3 separate regions of the Homo sapiens genome follow, and regions 1 and 3 are each linked to region 2. Evidence: promoter capture Hi-C in human tissues and cell types (Jung and others, 2019). All regions are on one chromosome and are shown on one strand. The core of a region is centred on a gene start or on the middle of the fragment in contact, and the rest is flanking DNA. Distances in the headings are between cores, read along the strand shown.

What was found. Contacts are between HindIII fragments. The study calls those that stand out against the background at their distance.
Region 1: a fragment that was not itself captured here is called in contact with the fragment with the promoter of DSCAM in region 2 in 6 of the 25 tissues and cell types used here (dorsolateral prefrontal cortex, hippocampus, lymphoblastoid cells and 3 more).
Region 3: a fragment that was not itself captured here is called in contact with the fragment with the promoter of DSCAM in region 2 in 3 of the 25 tissues and cell types used here (IMR-90 fibroblasts, dorsolateral prefrontal cortex and hippocampus).

What each region holds. Positions count from the first base shown.
Region 1 is chr21:40,802,842-40,805,541 of GRCh38, forward strand. The region is part of intron 1 of DSCAM (DS cell adhesion molecule); the gene reads right to left. Among named protein-coding and RNA genes, the nearest start is that of DSCAM, 43 kb to the right of the region's middle. The HindIII fragment of the contact is 4,192 bases long and covers 1-2,700 here.
Region 2 is chr21:40,845,770-40,848,469 of GRCh38, forward strand. DSCAM (DS cell adhesion molecule) reads right to left here and starts at 1,389. Exons shown (of 33, transcript NM_001389.5): 1 at 850-1,389. The coding sequence starts at 892. The HindIII fragment of the contact is 24,098 bases long and covers 1-2,700 here.
Region 3 is chr21:40,895,834-40,898,533 of GRCh38, forward strand. No RefSeq gene overlaps it. Among named protein-coding and RNA genes, the nearest start is that of DSCAM, 50 kb to the left of the region's middle. The HindIII fragment of the contact is 4,744 bases long and covers 1-2,700 here.

The sequences.
Region 1 (2,700 bases), core at 41-2,540, 43 kb before region 2:
TTCTTTATAAATTACACATTTCTAGAATTCTGTTACAAGCAACAGAAAGCAGACTAATACAGACATGGATATCCTGGGGAAGTGACAGCATTACGCAGCTGACCACACCTCACAACTAGACAGACAAGGTACCACTAACAGAATTCCTTTCCTTATGGCAGCACTTTGGTCTGTTTTTGCTGATATTTTACAATGATGAAAATCTGTTATTCTCTTTGGAAGTACTAAATTTAGGGTAAGTCAGAGAAGTCAGTTTCTAAGAGGAAAATAATACTCATTCCTAAATTTCTTGCCCCTAAATTTCTTTCCTCAAGTCTCCAATAAGTGCTGCACAGCTGAAATCTCATATGTTTTTCAAAATAATTATGGAACATCTGCCATATGGTAGATACAGATGTGATCACTGGCTTTTGCTTTACAAATGCAAATGATGCCTTTGACGTTCTCATTGCCTCTGTTTGCCAAGAAGGCAGTGAAATGATGAGAACTCCACTCTGTCACGTGAGCACACATATGCTACCCCATTACCCACCACAAGTCTGAGAAAACACCCAGGGAAGGACCACTAAAGCCACCTATAGGAGTGACTCAAATTCTGTTAAAGCAAAACACAAAATGTTCATGAAAGTGAAAGAGCCATGATAGGTCTGATCAATCGTGTGATGTTTTAGTGCTGCAACACCCTCTAGTCACTGATCTCGGGCCCCCAGACTCCCCCTTCTCTTTCGTCTCTCAGGTTAATGATTTAGAAAGGTGACATATGTGTGATTCTATTATTGTTAAACCTTGTAGTTGGTTGGTGAGTTAGGAATTACTAGAATCTACAGACTTTAGTATATATAGAATATACTGGCATTTATGTATAGAATCTGTGGGTAATGAACTCCAACTTGGATAGATCAGACAGGAAGGAAAAGAGGAAGGGAAGAATGGGGAAAAAAAAAACACCTTTATACCTGTGTCTGGACCGTTGAGTGTTGTTGGGGAAAATCCCACAGCTGGGAAGATTTGTGTCACAATAAATTTGCCGTCACCAGCCTAAATGGTCCTTCAGTGTCTCTAAGGAGCATCCCCTCTCCTGCTCTACAAAATGACCATTTCTCCTTCTCTAACCTACTCAAGCCTCAGACTCTTTACTCTCAGGACCCAGTCTTCTCTTCTGCTTAATAAAGAAAGGGGGGAAATAGCTAAAAATCCTTTAAACCACCCCTCCATCAGCACCAAGTCTGTAAACACTCCAGGGACCAATCCACTCTTCCCTCACTTAGGTTAGAATGGAGACAGTGACCTGTGCAGTACAAGGCCACTCCCCAAGTCCTGTCCACAGGGATAGGGGAGGCTTCCTGGAGCTCTGAATGTGGATGTGGCCTTGCTGATGGAGTGTGGTTCAGAATCAGGGGAGCACAGAGTCCATGCACCTTCCTTTAAATTGAAGCACAGAAGGTTGTTTTTCCAGAGGATCACAGAAATTCAAAATGCACGCTCTGCAGGATGCTTTGGTTGCCTTCCGCATTCCAACCTTTCCCTGATGATTATCCTGTTCCTCCTGGACCCTTGTTCTTTCCATTGCCATTGCCTCTCCACTGACTCTGGTCATCATTTAGGTAGGCTCAAGTCCTCCTTTCCCAGCAGGGCTCTCTCTGCTCCTACCACCCTCTGCCTGCTAGCCCCTATCTCCCCTCCCCGTTCCCAGCACACCTTCCTGGAGAAGATGAGAGCCCCCACGGTTTCATTTTCTCATTTCTCAGCCACTTTGCAACTCACCCTAACCTGCCTCCTGCCCTGCCCACTTGGTTTTCGACTACTTATCTGTTCCTTCTCAGTCTTCTTTACTCAGTCATCTGTCTCTGCACAATCCTGAAATGTTGACATTTTTATGGATTCTGTCCTAGGCCTTCTGTATCTGTTCATGCTACCTGTGCTCTTTAGAGACCTCTACTATATCCATTGCTAAATTCCCATCTATAAGTCAACATTCCCCTCCATCTAGGACTATCTACTGAGCTCCAGACTTAACTTCCCGCTGCTACATTGTACCCCACCCAATTGTATTCAGAGGTGTTTCAAGCTGACCATGATCACACCTGCACTTAAGCTTTCTCCTTCCCCACCCCCATAATTGGTCTAATGCTAATGTTTCCTAAATCAGTGAAAGGCACGTCCACTCAGCTGTCTGAACGAGACTCTTCTAATATTCTTGAATTAGCTCACTTCCCCCCAACTCCTAGGGAGCTGTCATGACCTCCCAAATGGCCTTCTAGAATCCACCCTTGCTCCTCTCAAATCCACCCTCCAGTCTGCTACTTCTCTTCTTATAATAATCTGATCACACAGATGACTGCCCAGTGACTTCCAAGTAAACCTTAATCTTAATATGAGCCAAGTATCTCTTAAAATCTGGCCACTGCCAACTTTCCTAGCTCTCTCTTGTATGTCTATCTCTCTTTCCCCCTCTCTGTTTTGTGAGGGTTCCTTCTGTTTGTTCATTCCCCCTCCATCCTGCCTTCTGGCTCATGAGGCTGACCAGTAATCATGACATCAGTGAGATTCCATGCCCTCTGACTTTTGGTGTGTTCAGGGCCACAGGAGTCCAGACAGGAGACTGGAAGGCAGTAGAAGAGTAAACTCAGTAACTCATTCCCTTGGCTCACTCCCCAATGAACCTACTTAGCTTGTTCCATTGGTCAACCAAAGTTTCCT
Region 2 (2,700 bases), core at 139-2,638:
CTCTGGTTCCCACAAGAGAGGAAGCCATTCATACATGTAAGTTCATATTTATGCGGTGACAGGCAGCCTAAGGTGCAGTCACACTTACTAATTGGGTCTGACTCAGTCAAGAGCAATAGCTTTCTAAATACCCAGGAAGAAATCATTTCAAAATATAATATTGGCTGGGCATGAGGAAATGTATGCTATTTACAATATTCACTGATTTCATTTTTACAACTATACAGGTGTTTTTTTTTTTTTAATTTGTCAACATTTCAGATGATGTAATGCTTATCAGTGCATATTTTTACATAAACGACTGTGAGGAGCATGAAGCAGCACGGGGTGCATAGAAGGACAGAACATTCTTAAAGCCCTCCTTGGTGCTGGAGATACATTGTACTAGCATGAAATTACGTGTTTGAAAAATCTCAAAAAGCATTGAATCTGAAGGGAGATGTTCCTCATTGACCCCTCCACTTGCGTGCACTTGGAATGTCACATCCCTTTCCAGGTTGTAATATTCAAAGTGGCAATCTTCCTGTCTCTCCTTCTGTCACCAAACCTGGTTTATTCTGAATGAGGCAGCTCTCTAGTACTGGAGTTAGGCTCTGAGCTGTCACTTGGCTAGGTAAGCGCCTTCCAATGATTACAGAGCAATTTCTCCCGGGCCTCTCCATTGCCACCTCTTCTCCCCCAAAAAATAAATATGATATTTAAAAAATAAATAAAAGCACGAAATTTTAAACACAGATGAAGCGGAAAAAGAAAGAAGACTTTACCCATGCATCCAATGCCACCCCCCACCCCCCCGCCCCCCCGGTCAATGATAAGGAAACGAAATTCATCACAAACCGAAAGGCTCACCATTCGCGAAGCTCTGGAACAAGGAGAGAGCCAGTATCCACATGCCCCTGCCGCTCCCCGGCCTCCCGCGAGCGACGCGCCGGCCTCGCCCCCCGCGCTCCGCCCGGCCCGGCTCCGCTCGCCGCTCGGCACCTGCCCGGGGGCCGCCGCCCGCCCGCCGCCCGCCGCCGCCGCCGCCGCTGCCTAGCCGCCCGGGCACGCGGCGCGGCCGGGCTCCGGAGCGAGGGCTGCGCTCGCCGCGCGCTGCGCTCCTGCACACCTGCTCCCGGGCGCCGCGCCCCACGCTGCGGCCGGAGCCCAGGTGCGCCGTCAGCTCAGTGGGCCCCCGGCAGGTCGGCAGGTGGAGAGAGCCGCAGACGCGGGCGTGAGCTCATCCCGGGCACTCGGCGCCCAGAATGCGCAGCCAGCGGCCTCCCGTGCGCCAGCCCTCACCCTCCGCATCCAGGCAGCAGGCGGGCGGGCAGGCTCATCTTTGCCGTGCTCCGGCCTCAGTCACATGGATCCCTCTGCCAACCTTCCCTGCCTGCGAGCCGGGCGAGTGAAGCCGAGCGCGGAGGCGAGCAGGGACCCCTCCCCTGCCTCTGGCCGCTGGGGCGCTCTGCAGTCTTAAAGCAGCAGCAGAGACGTGCAGCCGAACTGAGGCAGGACCGGGGAGAGCGCAGCCACCGCACAGTCACGCACAGTCATCAGGAGGAATTTCTTAGAGGCTTAAATAATCATTTCAACAGCTGCTTATTTTTAGTTATTTTCCTGCCGGTTGCTAATAAGGGATGGCCGGGGTGACTATTGCGGAAGGTGGCCAGCCACGGAGAGGTGAACATGAAATGCTCGTAGTTTTAATAAAATGTGCAGCTGGATTCCGATTCCGTATTTACTCTCAGAAAAGTCCAGTTCATTTGCTTAGAGGGAAATGCTCCTTCCAAATCCTTGCTGCTACTGTAAAGATCTCTATGATTTCACGGGCTAATTTTTAATTATCTTGAATACATGGTAGAATGCAAACACAAGCACTTCTAATTTTGCTCTCTGAATGGCGCATAAAAAAGCTGATTGAAATTGCTGATAATTTGAGTAATCCCAAACATATAGCCCCTTTCACGTTTCTGTGAAAAGTCAATATGTTAACATTTCCTGAATGTTCTGTATGATTCTTGAAGTCATGATAATATTTAAATTAAAGCTCTCACAAGGGCGTACATCTATCCATCACTTTGCAATATAATGACCGACAGGGCTGGAATGCACCCCAGTGTAGAAGCCAGGATGGAATGCTCACAGTCAGGACAATCAGGACTGAAAAAAAGCATTCGGTGGGGGTCAAGGGAGACATTTTCAAGGGAAATTGAGTAGGCTTTTTCCTAGGCACTAGGTATCCTAACTGGGCTCCATGTCCCCCTCCAAATACAGAAGAATGATGCACATCTCAGACAGCTCACAAAACACAGGAGAAGCAAATGGTGAGGCAGAAACAAAATGGTGCTTTACCAGGGTTGGGCACAAGATGGCCAGGCCCTGTGTACCAGGAAGGGTCAGCTGAGCCGGTGATGCTGCCTGGCTCACCACGGCTCTGCAGCTGCAGGTGATCACGTGCTGCCGCCCACTCAGGCTGCGCAGGCCCAGCCCCCAGTACCACGCACCAGAACCAGCATCCTCTGGCTTTGCAAATGCTGGGTGCTCAGTCCCTGGTCCTTCCCAAATGCAACCCAGGAAGGCAGGGGATGGGCCTGATTCTGTCCCTGCATCTGGCTGGTTGACCTATTCATTAATTCTTACTTGCACACTAGCCACCTGCAAGGGTGCCCAGGCACTGGGGTCAGGGAAACCCAGGGTCGAATTGCAGCTCCTCCACTA
Region 3 (2,700 bases), core at 196-2,695, 50 kb after region 2:
GTTCCACATGGCTGAGGAGGCTTCACAATCATGGTGGAAGGCAAGAAGGAGCAAGTCACGTCTTACATGGATGGCAGCAGGCAAAGAGAGAGAGCTTGTGCAGGGAAACTCCCATTTTTGAAACTATCAGATCTCATGAGAATTATTCACTATCAGGAGAACAGCATGGGAAAGACCTATACCCATGATTTAATTATCTCCTACCGGGTTCGTCCCACAACACATGGGAATTGTGGGAGTTACAATTTAAGATGAGGTTTGGGGAGGGACACAACCAAACCATTAGAGACCTGAAAGAGGCTGTTGTACTCACTGATTCATGTAGTTTGCATGTGTGTCCTCTCTAAATCACATGTTGAATTGTAATCCCCAGTACTGGACATGGGGCCTGGTTGGGGGTGATTGGATCACAGGGGTGGATTTCTCATGAATGATTTAGCATCATCCTCTTGATGCTATTCTTGTGATAGTGAGTTCTCATGAGATCTAGCTGTTTAATAGTGTGTGGCAACTCCTCCCTCTCTCTCTTGCTCTTGCTTTCACCATGTGATGTGCTGGCTTCTTCTGTATCTTCCTCCATGATTGCAAGCTCCCCGAGGACTCACAAGAAGCTGAGCAGATGGTCAGTATCATGCTTCCTGTACAACCTGCAAAACCATAAGCCAGCTAAACCTCTTTTCTTTATAAATTACTCAGTCTTAGGTATTCCTTTATAGCAATGCAAGAACTACATAACACAGAAAATTGTTATCAGGAGTGAGATATTACTGTAAAGATACATGAAAATGTGGAAGTGACTTTGGAACTGGGTAACAGGCAGAGGTTAGAAGATTTTGGAGGGCTCAGAGGAAGACAGGAAGACGAGGGAAAGTTTAGAACTTCTTAGAGGCTTGTTAGATGATTGTGACCAAAATGCTGATAGTGATATGAACAGTGAAGTTCAGCCTGCTGAGGTCTCAGATGGAAATAAGGAACTTATTGGGAACTAGAGCACAAGTCATCCACGTTATGCTGTAGCAAAGAGATTGGTTGCATTGTGTTCACGCCCTAGAGATCTGTGGAAATTTGAACTTAAGAGTGATGATTTAGGGTAACTGGTAGAAAAAAAAAATCTAAGCTACAAAGCATTCAAGATGTGTCTTGGCTGCTTCTAACAACCTACTCTTAGACATAGGAGCAAAGAAATGACTTAAAGTTGGAAGTTATATTTAAAGGGGAAGCATATCAGAAACATTTGGAAAATTTGCAGCCTGGCCATGTGGTAGAAAAGAAAAGCCCAATTTCAGTGGAAGAATCCAAGTGAGCTACAGAACAACCACTTATTAGAGAGATTTGCGTAACTAAAAGGGAGCCAGGTGCTGATAGCCAAAACAAGGGGGGAAAAGGTCTCAAAGACATTTCAGAGATCTCTGAGGCAGCCCCTCCCATCACAGGCCATGGGTTCTAGGAGCAAATAATGTTTTGGGGGGCCAGGACCAGGGCCACAATCCCCTGCACAGTCATAGGACTTTGCTTCTCGCATTCCAGTCACTCCAGCTGCAGCTGGAGGGGCCAAGTTACAGCCTGGGCCTCCACTCTAGAGGGAGAGAGCCATCAGCCTCAGTGGCTTCCACATAGTGTTAAGCCTGTAGGTTCACAGAGTGCAAAAGTGAAGAATGTTTGGCAGCCTCTGTCTACATTTCATAGGATGGATGGGAAAGCCAGAGTGCCCAGGAAGAAGCCTATCTCAGGGGCAGAACCCTCATAGACAACCTCTACTAGGGCAGTCATGAAGGGAAATATGGGGTGTGAGCCCGTACACAGAGTTCCCAGTGTGGGAACTGCGTAGTGGAGCTGTAGGGAGGGGGTCACTTTCCCCCAGACCCCAAAATGGTAGATCCATAAGCAGCTTGTACCCTGGAAAAGCCACAGGCACTTAACTGCAGCCTATGAGAGCAGCTGTGGGGACTGAACCATGCAAAGCCTAGAAGCAGAGCTGCCATGGCTTTGGGAACCCAACCCTTGCACCTGTGTTCCCTGGATGCAGGACGTGGAGTTGAAGGAGACTGCTTTGGAACTTGAAGATTTAATGACTGCCCTGCTTGGTTTTGCACTTGTGTGGGGGCTGTACATGTAAATAGCCCCTGTCTTTTTGGCTGATTTATCCCTTTTGGAATGTGAATGTTTAACCAATGCCTGTACCCCCATTGTATCTTAAAAGCAAGTAATTTGTTCTGATTTTCCAGACTCATAGGTGGTAGGGACTCAACTCCAGATGGGACTTTGGACTTGGGACTTTGGACTTTTGAGTGATGCTAAAATGAATTCAGACTTTTGGGAAACTACTGGCTGGGGATGATTATATTTCTCAGTGGAAGAAGAACATGAGATTTGAGGGGCCAGGAGTGGAATGATGTAGTTTAGAGGTTGTTCCCTCTGAATCTCATGTTGAATTGAATCCCCAGTGTTGGAGGTGGGGCCTGGTGAAAGGTGATGGGTTCATGAAGGCAGATTTCTCATGAATGGTTTAATGCCAACCCCTTGGTGCTGTCCTTGATAGTGAGCATGTTCTCAGAAGATCTGGTTGTTTAAAAATCTGTGGCAACTACTCCCTCTCTTTTGCTCCCACTCTCACCGTGTGATATGTTGGCTCCCCCTTTGCCTTCCACCGTGACTGCAAGCTCCCTGAGGCCTCACCAGAAGCAGAGCAGATGCTGATGC